2 separate regions of the Homo sapiens genome follow, and region 1 is linked to region 2. The links are contacts of gene promoters, found by promoter capture Hi-C in human tissues and cell types (Jung and others, 2019). All regions are on one chromosome and are shown on one strand. The core of a region is centred on a gene start or on the middle of the fragment in contact, and the rest is flanking DNA. Distances in the headings are between cores, read along the strand shown.

Region 1 (6,675 bases), core at 3,981-6,480, 86 kb after region 2:
GTCCAGGGGAAAGAGCAGGGTCTGTTTCAGGCGGTAGATGCTGCTGTTTCTTACTCCACAGCCATCAACCTCCCACTTCCTCCAAGGCAGCAGATCCTGCTTCCCACAGCAGAGGCTGTGGAAACGCCTGGCACTCTCCTTCCCAGTGTTCCTTCCAACTCCGGGCATATGGCAAGGTTAGGGATGACATGAAATAGAGGAGTCTGCTGGGACAGCTTCTGGAAAGGTTTTCACTCTGATAAGAAGAGGAGAGACCTGAGGAGTTGTCTGTCCGCCCCGAAGGCGCCCCTTTCCCCTGCCTGCTGATGAGGCTGCCTGCTGAAGGGATGCCTGGAGCAGCTGCAGCTTCCCCCAGGCCTGGGGGCTGAGCCGGACCATGAGAAGCCAGCATGCTGAGGATGGTGGAGCACGGGGCAGCTGGAGGCTGGGTGCTTGGTGGCCTTTTGGAGTTGCCAAACCAACCCTGGAGCCTGGAGCCCCAGCACTGTTGTCATTTGAGATGATCAGTGTCTTCATTGTTTAAGACACTTTTAGTTGGATATTGTCACTTGCAGCCAAGAATCTTTAAACTTACACATTGTGGAAGGAATGCCTAAAGAAGGACTGAAGCAATTTTCTTTCAATCACCGATATCTGAAAATAGAGCTTTACTGAGAAAAAGGAAAAGATTCAGACTCCTTTATCTGCCCCTTGAGTATACAAGCACCTAAGCCTCGGGACTCATACATGTTGGATTCTCTCGCACAGTAAAGAAAATAACACTCTAGTCAGTGACAGGCCATGCTTTGTTTTGTTTTTAAATACATCCAGGAGGGATGGTGAAGAAAGTAAGTGCAAGCAACAGTAAGGGCAGAGAGAGAAGCTGCACCCTCCCAAAGCGCTCTGCCTGGGGCTCTGGGGAGGACAGCCTCGTGGGGCTCTGGGGAGGACAGCCTCGTGGGGCTCTGGGGAGGACTGCCTCGTGGGGCTCTGGGGAGGACTGCCTCGTGGGTGTCCCATTCCAACCCAGCACAGCCACGGTGAGACACGCTTTAGTTGTGCATTGTGATGAAGAGGAAGAAGCACCCACGCCTAGCTTTCCTGAGCTGCTCTTGGGTCCCTGTGCTGACTAGCCCTGGCTGGGAAGCTGACCAGGGGCAGTTGCTGTGGCCAGGGCAAACTGGCTCTGTGGAGGGCTGCAGAAAGACCACCTGAGTAGGGTTGAATGGAGGCTTCCCCAGACCCAGAAGGGTGGCAGGGCTGTCAGGAGTCTGGCTGAGGTCAGGGCAGCCAGGAAGACCCACCAGGAGCATTGTCCCCACACAAGACCCCGACCTCCACACTCAACTTCAGCACCAGGGGTCTTCAGGGTGTCCTTGATGGCTAGAGAGCATTGCCCAGGGGCCGGGGAAGCCAGGGAATAGCAGACAGACACCCAGTAGATGCGAGAATGTTGGCTTCCAGGCCATACAGCTGCACCGCGTCCCTGCCTCTCCTCATTGAGAGGAGCAGGGTGAAGGACAAGCTCTCTGGGAGATTGACCCTTTCCTCCAAGACAGGCCGAACCCCCCCTCCCCACTAAAGCACAGCTGAAACTACCAGGCAGACTGAGATTTAACCAAGATCAGACACTGAGTTGTTATTATTATTTATTTATTTATTTATTTATTTTTTGAGACGGAGTCTGGCTCTGTCTCCCAGGCTGGAGTGCAGTGGCTCGATCTTGGTTCACTGCAAGCTCCAACTCCTGGGTTCACGCCGTTCTCCTGCCTCAGCCTCCTGAGTAGCTGGGACTGCAGGCGCCCGCCCCCGTGCCTGGCTAATTTTTTGTATTTTTATAGAGACGGGGTTTCACCGTGTTAGCCAGACCCCGTGATCCGCCTGCCTCGGCCTCCCAAAGTGCTGGGATTACAGGTGTGAGCCACGAGTTATTATTATTTTTTAATTTTTTGCCGCTAGTCTGTGGGTGGGGGTGGCAGAGAGGTAAGGTGAGGATGGAGTTAGAAACAAGGCTAGATTAGTCACAGAAAAAGCATACATTTTATTACCACATTTAAGTTGTGAACAAAAGGTATACCTTTGTTCTACGTACTGTCCACTTTTTGCAATTGGCATAGCTTATCATGAGTGCATATTACTTTATCAATTAAAAAAAGCAGTAAAAGCATATGAAAGTAAATGTCATGAAAAGTACAAATAAATAGTGGGCAGATGACTAATAATTAAACTCTAAGAGAAATATTTTTAAAAACCCATGGGGGGCCAACCAAGAGATGTTGTAACTTGAAAACCACATCCAGCAGGTAAAATTAAATGAGGGGCAAAGAGAAGCACCATGATCCCATGAGGTCACTGAGGCGCAGGGAGGAACGCCTGGCTGCCAAGCAGTGCTCTGGACCATCGCCGTGGGTGTCAGTGAACCTCCCTGTAACATCTGGTTGAGGAGACAGGCAGTGGAGCCCCGGGGGCACACAGAAGGGCTCTGGCACCAGCCTGCTTTGGTTTGAATCTGCGCTGCCACTTACTAGCTCATGACTTTGTTAAGTTACTTAACCATTCTTTCACTCAATTTCGTCATATGTCACTTGAGAATAATAAAGTTAATTCATTCGTCATAGGGTTACCACAAGGATTAAATGTAAAGCCCTCAAAATTGCTCTTGGCCCACAAGAAGAATTTGGCTATTACCGTTACTTCTGGAATTGACTGAGAAAAGAAAAGATGCTGAGTTTCCCACCTTCTATGCTTAGAGAACCACCATCTCTTGTCTTGGGGCCAGCCATCTCCCCACAAAGGGGCCAGTCAGCAGAACGAGCATCAACACCTCCCCTCTCACCCAGTCTTATTGGGGTGGGGGTAGGGAGGGGCCAAGAAGATGGCCTGGGAAGCTGTGGCAGTCCAGCAGCAGGGCATCCAGACATCCCATTTCCTGGCTCCGCAGCAGCCTGGCCATGAGGCTCACTCGCAAGAGTAGGGAGAGGTCAGGGGGCATGGTTAGGGGAAGGAGGTGGCACCTGCAACTCCCGGCTCTGAGCAGTAGATGGTCTTGCGCATGCCTCCAGACCCCTCACCTGGGAGCTCCGGAAAGCAGAGAAAGTTGGGGGCACATAATCACCTTGTGCTGTAATGCATATGCTACATTACTGGAAAAACTCAAGTAAAATCTGTAAATGCGATATTAATACACCAGGCTGAAAATACACTCGGTCTTTGAGAGTTTACAGTTTAGAAACAATTATAATAGGGTATGGAGTGGGTGCTGTGAGAGAGTCAGGGAGGAGAGGAGGCATCTAGGTCAGATGGAAGAATGCAAGAAGGCTCTCTGAGGAGGCGACACTTAGACTGAACTTAAAGGATGAGTGTGAGTGAATGAGAAAAAAGGGAGGAGCATTTCAAGAACAGCACATGAAGGGAACTGGAGGCAAGAAACAGCACAGTGCATCTTAGAGCTTGTATGTGGTTTGGAGAGGCTGAGATGGAAGGTGGATGTGCGGGGGTGAAGGGAGACGAGGCTGGAGAGGAAGGCCATACCCAGAGAATGCAAGACCTGGCATGCATGCCAAAGGGTTCTAATCATATTTGCAGTTTCGAAGGGTCATACAGGCTGGGCACTGTGGCTCATGCCTGTAATCCCAGCACTTTGGGAGGCCGAGGCAGGTGGATCACCTGAGGTCAGGAGTTCAAGACCAGCCTGGCCAACATGGTGAAACCCGTCTCTACTAAAAATACAAAAATATCCAGCCTGGGCAACAGAGCGAGACTCTGTCTCAAAAAAAAAAAAACAAAAATAATTAGCTGGACCTGGTGGTGCACACCTGTAATCCCAGCTACTTGGGAGGCTGAGGCAGGAGAATCGCTTGAAGCCAGGAGATGGAGGATGCAGTGAGCCAAGATCACGCCACTGCACTCCAGCCTGGGTGACAGAGTGAGACTTTGTCTCAAAAAAATAAATAAATAGAAGGGTCATACATCCAGCAGTATTTGAGGGTCCAGCAATATGTAGGGGTGGGCAGACTGGAGGCAGAAAGGGCAGCTAAGAAGCTACTGCTGTAGTCCAGGCAAGACAAAACAGTGTCTGCTCAAGGTAGAGACGAGGGAGAAGACAGGAGAGATGATAAAGCAATAGATTCTGTACTACTTGGTGGCTTGTTAAGTGTGAGTTGAGGGAGAATGGGAGTCTAGGTTACTTTGTTTTCTGATTTGTACAGACACTAAGATACAGAAGGTAGAGGAAGTGGCACAGGTTTTGAATGTGGTGAATTTGAGATGAAGTTTATAGTAGATATATGTGGCTGAAACTCAAAAGAAATGTCTGAGGCTGGGCATGGTGGCTCACATCTGTAAACCTAGTGCTTTGGGAGGCCCAGGTGGGAGAATTGCTGGAGGCCAGGAGTTGGAGACCAGCCTGGGAAACATAGGGAGATCTCAACTCTACAAAAAACAAAAACATAAAAAATTAGCCAGGCATGGTGTGTGCACCTGTAGTTCCAGCTACTTGGGAGGCTGAGGTGGGAGGATTGCGTGATCGCAGGAGTTTGAGACTGCAGTGAGTTGTGTGATTGATTGTGCCACTGCACTGTAGCCTGGGTAACAGTGAGACCCTGTCTCAAAAAAAAAAAAAAAAAAAAAGGTGGGGGCGGGGAGAGATAGAGGGAGGTCTGAGCCAGATATGTGGGCATGAGAGTCATCCTCACAGAGGTGATGTTGGAGCCATGATGTGCCCGACAGCACGTCTAAGAACATATACATGAGAAGAGTAACTGGGCCATACAAGCATTTAAGATGTGAGAAACTAGACCCCATCAAGGAATCCGTGAAGGAGAAGCCAGAGAGAGAAGAAAACCAGGAGATTGTATCATAGAAGCCAAGAAGAAAAAAATGCGTGGTTTTAGGAAGGAGTGAGTGGACAGTAGAGTTTAATGTTGCAGAGAAGTCAAATAAACTAAGGACTGGAGGGTGGACATTGTCACTGGACACCTTGGAGAGAGCAAGTTCAAGGGCAAAGAAGCCAAGCCACTGGACTGAGCGGCAGTGAGAGAGTGGGAGGAGCAGCCTGCTCTTCAGAAAGAGCTTGCTAGGGGCTGGTGTGGTGGTTCACGCCTGTAATCCCAGCACTTTGGGAGGCAGAGGTGGGTGGATCACTTGAGGTCAGGAATTCGAGACCAGCCTGGCCAACATGGTCGAAACCCCGTCTCTACTAAAAATACAAAAATTAGCCAGGTGTGGTTGCGCACACTTGTAATATCAGCTACTAGGGAGGCTGAGGCAGGAGAATCATTTGAACCCACGAGACAGAGGTCTCAGCGAGCTGAGATCATGCCACTGCACTCCAGAAAGAGCTTGCCAGAAAGGTGGCATGTAGAAAGGAACCAGAAAAGGATGGACCCGTGAGGGTGAGCTGAGATGTAGAACTGAGAAAATGTTTATATGATGAAGTAAAAAGCCATGTTTGAGGAAAACAGATTTTAAGTGGAGAAGAGCAATGAACTGAGAATCAAGAAACTTGAGTTCTGGTCCAGGTTCTGCCAATAATTAACCATGAGATTTAGGAAAAAGTCACTTCGCCTCTCTGTGCCTCAGTTTCCTCCTCTGTCAAATGAAAGAGCTGACCTAGATCCAATTTTATTTAGCCAGAATGTTTTCTAATTCTGAGTCTCCTCAAAAGGAGGGAACTGAGTTATTTATTCTGAGAGGTAAAAGTATTAGCATTTTGTTGAAAACATCTTAAAGCTAAAAAGCTGTCACTTGAATTGGGCCATTCTTTTGCCTGCAGAACTCTGGCACATAAGTAAACACACATGATATAACTGCCAAAGTAAATTATGTTGAAATAACTTATAGTCTAAAATTGACAGATTGAAAGTAAATACTGGCAAAGTTTCCTTACTCCTTTGGGGGAGTCCATCAGAAATACTTGATAGTTAATTTGTCTCTGGGGAACACTTCTTAGTAGACCCTCAGTCATTCACCTCTGCCCTCTTGCTCATCCACTTTCACTTGGCTGGTTGACTTTTTACTGAATGTGCTTGAGCGGGTTTCCACTCTACATGTTGTGAGCAAGATTCACGTCAGCTTTTAGCTCTGGAAAGAGAGCAGTTGAGAAAACAGGGACCTGCTGTAGTATGAAATCCACCTGGTGACCACCACACTGAGAAACATGGAACCTCTGACCATCTACGTTACCAAAAGTTATACACAGAAAATAATTTCTGCCCAATGGAGAAGAACGTTTGGGTAATTTTGAAACTACAGCACCTGTTGAGGGACTGTGGAAAGCACTAGTCCTGTCTAACAGTGTCACTTTGCTGAGTATCCAATCAACAGCAATAGTTACAGGACAGTATTTAACAAATGTTACAATGTGCATTCCCTTAAACTAATTTACATAAATTTAAACATACTCCTCATTTGTGTGGATATTCTGCAACAAATTGAGATGCTTTTATAAATTGAGATACTTTTTGTTTGTTTTTGAGATGAGGTCTCACTCTGTTACCCAGGCTGGAGTCCAGTGGTGTGATCGTGGCTCACTGCAGCTTTGAACACCTGACTTCAAGTGATCTTCCCGTCTCAGCCTCCCGAGTAGCTTGGACTACAGGCACACCCCACCACACCTGGCTTGGGGTACTTTTTTGTCCAAAGGATATTATTTCTTTTCTTGCAACCCTACAGAACAAAGTGTCGTAATGATGTGAT
Region 2 (5,897 bases), core at 3,177-5,676:
TCAGGTCTGGGGTTCAGATAGCAGCAGACATCTTCAATGTGTGTCCTTGTGGTTAGAGAGATTGAAGTGCTCCCCAGGACCCCTCTCACTGCCGCCTGACTGCACCAACAAGCATCTCCTGGCAGATTCTTCCTGGTGGCGTCACTATTGGGTTGAGAATACTACCGGTGACCAGAGAGAGCAGAGGAATTAGCGTGCTGAGCAAGGAAACTCCAGAGAAGCTGCCAGCCCAACAGGATAGCCAATGCCACCCATGGCTGCTGCGACGGACATTGGGAGTGACTGCTGTGTGGAGACTGCTGTACTGGGACCATCAGTATGAATACTTTCTTCTTTCTTCAAGCGCACATTTGTAATAGGCAGGACCAAGTCCCTTTCTACTTGGAATTGCCAGCTTGGGCTCATTGTGGGTGCTCAGCATGTGCCATTACCACTGGACTCATGAGAGGTAGAAAAAGGCGTAAAGGGGGCATAGACACGGCCAATGCCTCCTGACAATGATCATACAAGCCACGGGCAGCAGGTGTCCCACAGAAGGGCTGCCAGCCCTAATCACAGGAGTCTGACCAGATCCTCCTTGATAGTGACAGGAGGAAGCCAGCCCTCCTCCTCAGCCCTGGAGGAGTTCACACAGCAAATCAACAAATGCTAAATGGGAGACTTCCGGCAGCCGCTCACGCCTGCCATTGGGCATCCCAGTCTCCTCGTGGTTCCTCAGGGCCCTCGAGCGTGAAGTGGGGTGCTGGAGCCATGCTCTCATGGGCCTTTCCAGAAGGAGCAGCCTGAGATCCTGCTCACTTCATAACAGAGCCCAGGAGTTGGGCTCCCTCCAGGCCTCATCTTCCCAGCACCTCAGAAGTCAGTAGGGCCAGCCATGCTGGTGTTCTCCCGCTCTCAGCCAGGGCTCCTCACATTTGATGAAATCTCCAGTCCTGTTAATGTGTCTAGAAAGTCAACTTGTGTATTGGAGGCAGGGGTGGAGGGAGGGATTTGAAATTACCTGGAATTCTTTGTCTTAGTGCAATTTGTCTAAAGTTACTGTATTCTTTTCTTTCCATCCATCCCCTGCCCCCAAGCCCACAAATCCTCAATTTCTAAAAACTGGAAGCAAACACATAATAAGCCATCCTTCTGTGTTTGCAATCTGCTTGTCAAACTTATGGAGCCAAAGAAATAGTATTAAAAATAACGATAATAAACATGGTCGGCTTGTGATTGCTGTGTTCTCCAGTAGAGGTCTTTAGCTGCCAGGAGGCTGAACGCAGAGCAATATTTAATAAGCACTGTCTAATTTCCAGGCAGTCTTGCTTCCTAGCTTTCTTTTGATTTTGATGCTAATATTTGCGTCCCTTGAGAACGGCTATGATGCTGAGGGGTCCTGTGCTTAGAGTCCCTTTCAGCCTCACACACACACTGGGACTACACAGCTGGCCAGTAGCACTATGTGATGTCACCTGGGTGCCTGAAGGCCCCCATTCATTTGCCTGATTTTGGTCAATTAAACAAACTTCAGGAGGAATTACTGTGGCTTTTTCAGGGAGGCTAGAGCTTTCTCTGGGATGAGGGCAAAAAATGAAATGAGTGGAAAAATCATCTAACAGTGCAAACTCCACACTACCCTGTAAAACACAGAAGAGCCACCGTAGGAGAGATTTGCAGGCAAAGTAAAACCACTAACTGCACGATCCAGTCTTCTTTTAGGTGCCTCGTCTGTATTTACTTATTTCACTGGAGTGACCACCCGGTAACATAGTAGAAACATTATTTCCATTTTACAGATGAGGAAACTGAGGGACAGTAGATTCAGGACGATGCCTCGAGTCTCACCCAGCTGGTGGGCGGTAGGGCTGGGATCTGAACAGGCTGGCTGGCTCCGGCGAACCTCGGCTCTTCCCTACTCTGCTCTTATGTTGCGTGGAAACTAGGCCAGGATCAGGGAACTCCTGATCTTCACCCTGAGGAGAAGCAAAGAGAAGACAGCCCTGAGGCGCCCCACTCTGGGGCAGCGTGTGTGACCCAGGCCTTCGGACCGAGAAGGGAGAAAGGAAATACGTCCTTCCCTATCCTGAAGCGGAGGGCGTTCCAGGTTTCGCAGGTAGTGCTGCAGCCGCGCAAGGACCGGGCGAGGCTGCGCCCCTGAGCCCAAGTCTCCACTCACCGGCCTTCCCTTGCCCCCTCACCTGCACGCGGGTACTTTTAGCCCTGGGCAAGCCTTGAGCCAAGCGCCGAGACCAAACCCGGGAAATTAAACAGTGTGCATGGAATGAAATGTGGTCCGTGGAAGGTGCCTGCAGCTGGCGGTTAACACCGGCAGTAAGAGGATCAACGCCCGGGCCGCTGGCTTAAAAATGGGAGTGGGAGTGCGAAGTGTGCGCGCTCCTTTTTACCCATTCACGTTAGTTAATTTGGATGATAAGGGTTCGCGTTTAATCTCTTTGTGTGCGAGTGAATATCCTGAAATCGACAACCCCTGAGAGGGCACTCGCGGCTGGCAGAGCAACCTGGGAGGGTGCGGATCGTGTCCAATCTGGCGTGAAGCAGAAAGGAAACATCGTGAGGAGACTAGAGGCAGGACCGAGAGGGACACCCTAGGGGTGCGAGGTGCAGACCGAGCCCTCACATCTCCCAGGCCGCAGCAGGTGGGCCGATGGCTTCCCCGAGGCCTGGCACCCCAGGCCTGGCTCTGCGCCCTGAGGCTCCCAGGTCCCACCAGCTAGAAGAGCGCCGCCTACCCACCCCTGCCAAGGTCTAACGACCCCAAGGGGGGCGCTGGGCCCTGCCATCTCCCTGCAGAACAGAGAGAATTTAGGCAGGGTTAGGGGCAGGCAGAAAAGAAGAAAAATCTGAGAAGCGGTCTCAGCTGTTCCCAGATGGAAAAGATTAGAGAGGTGAGAGTTCGGTGGCTCTAGAAAGGGCCATAAAACAAAAATCATTTTTATCGTTTCAATCTGCAAGAAAGCTCACCCCCCACCCACACCCCACAAGCTCAGAGCCCCCAGAGTATAGGATCCGAGGCAGCAAGTGTGAGCGAGGCCCGTCCTGGGGGAGGTGGCCTCTGGCCGCGGGGCCAGGTTGCCCTCAGAGGCGCAGGCGGCCAAGAGAGTTCCCAGCCGCCGCCGCCCCCCTCCTTCCCCTTGGGCCCGTCCAGCAAATTTCCTCCCTCGTTTCTGTTCGTGCCTTCCCTCCCTCCTCCTCCCCCCGATATTTTCGCTTTCTAAAACCATAAAAAAGAGATCAACTTCCCAAACTTCACAGGGCCCTTTTCAGTGACAAATATTGATGCCCAAAGTGTCTGCGCTCTCCCGCCCCCAAACGTTAAGAAAAGACGCCAGCGAAAGGGAGACATAAAAAGTTAACAATGCTGTGAAAATATGTTTGCAGAAAATAGACAATCGTTGGATTAAACGTATTCAAGTATGAAATAATGCCTTTTTGTGTCAAAACTTGGGCGATGGGCGGGTACAAAAGTTCCCTGTGGCAGCTACTTGCTCCCTTTGTGAGCCGTGCGCTTTGGCGTCTCCACTTGGGCGCATTACTCAGAGCCCTCTAAGCGCGATTGTTTCTCCCTTTCTAATGACATTTACCGGATCAAAACATGCTGTTAATTCGATCAGAAGGCTTCACCCTCCCTGACAAAGCCACAATAATTTCTCCTGAAGTTTGTTAAATTGACCAAAATTAGGCAAATGAATAGGGGTCTGTAGGCGCCCCCTCTCGCAGGTGACGTTGCATAATGCTTGCCTGGGCCAGCTGCATTCCCCCTTTTCTTCTCGGCCCACTCTTCTCCGTGTTGCCCCCCAATCCTCCCACCCGCCCCTTCACACACAAACACACACACACGCCCGCCAGTCTCTCCTCCCCCACCCTCTGGCATTATTAAAATTTAGCCCAATGAAACTATTCATACTTTTCAATGGACATTTTCGTATAGGATAATAGGCTACAAATTGAGCCTCTTCCCCCCGCGAAGAGGGAGCAGGAGGGGTGGGGAGAAAAGAAAGCCAGCGACGTGGTCAGGGAGTAGGGGGGAGCGTCGCGTGCCAAACAGCGGCGGGAGGGGCGAGGCGAGGCGAGGCGGGAGCCTCGTGTGCCAGCCGCAGCCCCACACCTGCCGGGATGTCCGGACAAATAAAGCGGTGTAAACAAAAAGGGGGGAGAAGGACGTGTCACCAAGTCGTGTGAGAAAAGCCTGGGAACAAACGGGGCGCCTCCGTCTCCAAGAGCTCTCCCTTGAACCCGGCGGAACAGCCTATTAAAGGCTTACTTAATTACTTTAATGACTCTGGACAGGCTTTAAAACGCACTCGGCGCTGGGACGGCGGGCTTGCTGGGATTTGTAAACAGGCGATCATGTGAGACTCAGCGGTGGGACTAAAAGAGGCGACACTGTTTTGTGAGGGTCCTCGCCCCCCGGTGCCCGCGGCCGCTGCGCCCCTGCGCTCCGCGCCCGCGACTGCTGCAGGCGCTTGCTCGCCCGCCGGCCCCAGTTTACCGCCTCCTTTTCCCGCCCGAGCTGTTGCCATGCAAATGTTATTCCTGGGCCGATCACGTGTCCTTTGAAGGGCCACGTGGATTAACAAAGCTGATCTGCCCCCAGCTCGCCCCCCTCGGCTGCTAATTTTTTTTTTTTCTTAACTTCTTTAAAACTGATCTTGAATGCATACATCCTCCAAACGCAGCTCCCCTAATCCTATGGAATAATTCAACTCGTGAATGCATCTGGAGCCCTAGATGACCGCTTTATAAGGCAGCCCTCGGAGTTGGGAGGCTGCAGTCTACCTGGGACACTCGAGGAGGCACACGAGGCGGAAAAGTGGACGGGTGCCCCGCGCCACCGCCTCTCCCGAGGGCGCGTACTGACCAGGATGTCAGACAAGCTCAAGGAACGCAAAGTGAGTCGGCTGAGCCCAAATGGCACTTGCGCCCTGGTGGTGGAGGCATCTGACTCACCGACCCGCCACTTGGGTGGACCGATGGCAGGGAAGTGCCCGCACGGGACTTTGAGTGTGGAGGAATCTCGAGTGGTTTGGGAAGGGGGTGGGGTAGAGAGAGGAGGGTGCTCAACCAGGTAGAAGTCCTGCCTGGAGGCTGGCGGCCACCTCCCCAAAGGCCTGGGTAGGGTGGCTGGAAGGGGAGCGCGCCAGCGCGGGCGTCAGAAGGCAGAGCTCACCTGGCCCGAGCGTGGCGGGCCAGGAGTCCCTTCCTAGAGCGAATCTGAGCAGTGTGCGCGGCTGGAGAGGCGGCTTGCACCCAGCTGCTAGAGCCGCGCCTTTGACGACTTCCCGGGCAAAGCCATCCTAAACATACAACCCTCTCTTCGCAGAGAACCCCCGTTTCTCATAAAGTGATAGAAAAGCGGAGGAGGGACAGGATCAACCGCTGCTTGAACGAGCTGGGCAAGACAGTGCCCATGGCCTTGGCGAAGCAGGTAACGTTGGCGACCCGGAGCCGGGTGCCAGGCGTTGGGAGGCCTCTGCGGCCACTCTGCGGAGACGCCCGAGCCCGCGGACACAGAGGACCTCACTTGCGGGCCCCTCCCAGGCGGGGGGCCTGAGCGCAGGGCGAACCTCAGGAGGCTCTGGCGCAGATCCGCAGCCGCGTCCGCTCGCTGGTCCTCTCCAGCGCCACAGTGCCCGACCAGCAGGCGCTGGGCCGCTGCGAGGGGCCCTTCCTCCTTTTGCAGAGTTCCGGGAAGCTGGAGAAGGCGGAGATCCTCGAGATGACCGTTCAGTACCTGAGAGCACTGCACTCCGCTGATTTTCCCCGGGGAAGGGAAAAAGGTGGGCACAGGTTAGGGAATGGGACGCCTGGGCCAGGCGCCTGCGCCACCCAGAGACCCTGGGGCTGGGAGGGGAGTGACTGAGTGTTCCCGAGAGCTCTACTAGAGCTCCACTCTC

The links. The method cuts DNA at HindIII sites, captures the fragments that hold promoters and counts their contacts. A contact is called where the count stands out against the background at its distance.
Region 1: a contact is called between a fragment that was not itself captured here and the fragment with the promoter of HELT in region 2, in 2 of the 25 tissues and cell types used here (H1 embryonic stem cells and pancreas).

What each region holds. Positions count from the first base shown.
Region 1 is chr4:185,099,151-185,105,825 of GRCh38, forward strand. All of the region lies in intron 5 of LINC02436 (long intergenic non-protein coding RNA 2436), which reads left to right. Among named protein-coding and RNA genes, the nearest start is that of SLC25A4, 41 kb to the right of the region's middle. The HindIII fragment of the contact is 6,305 bases long and covers 2,079-6,675 here.
Region 2 is chr4:185,014,064-185,019,960 of GRCh38, forward strand. It overlaps HELT (helt bHLH transcription factor), which reads left to right and starts at 4,427. Exons shown (of 4, transcript NM_001300781.2): 1 at 4,427-4,892; 2 at 5,324-5,428; 3 at 5,684-5,780. The coding sequence starts at 4,866. RefSeq lists enhancers at 3,677-4,257, 4,258-4,836, 4,837-5,416. The HindIII fragment of the contact is 22,587 bases long and covers 1-5,897 here.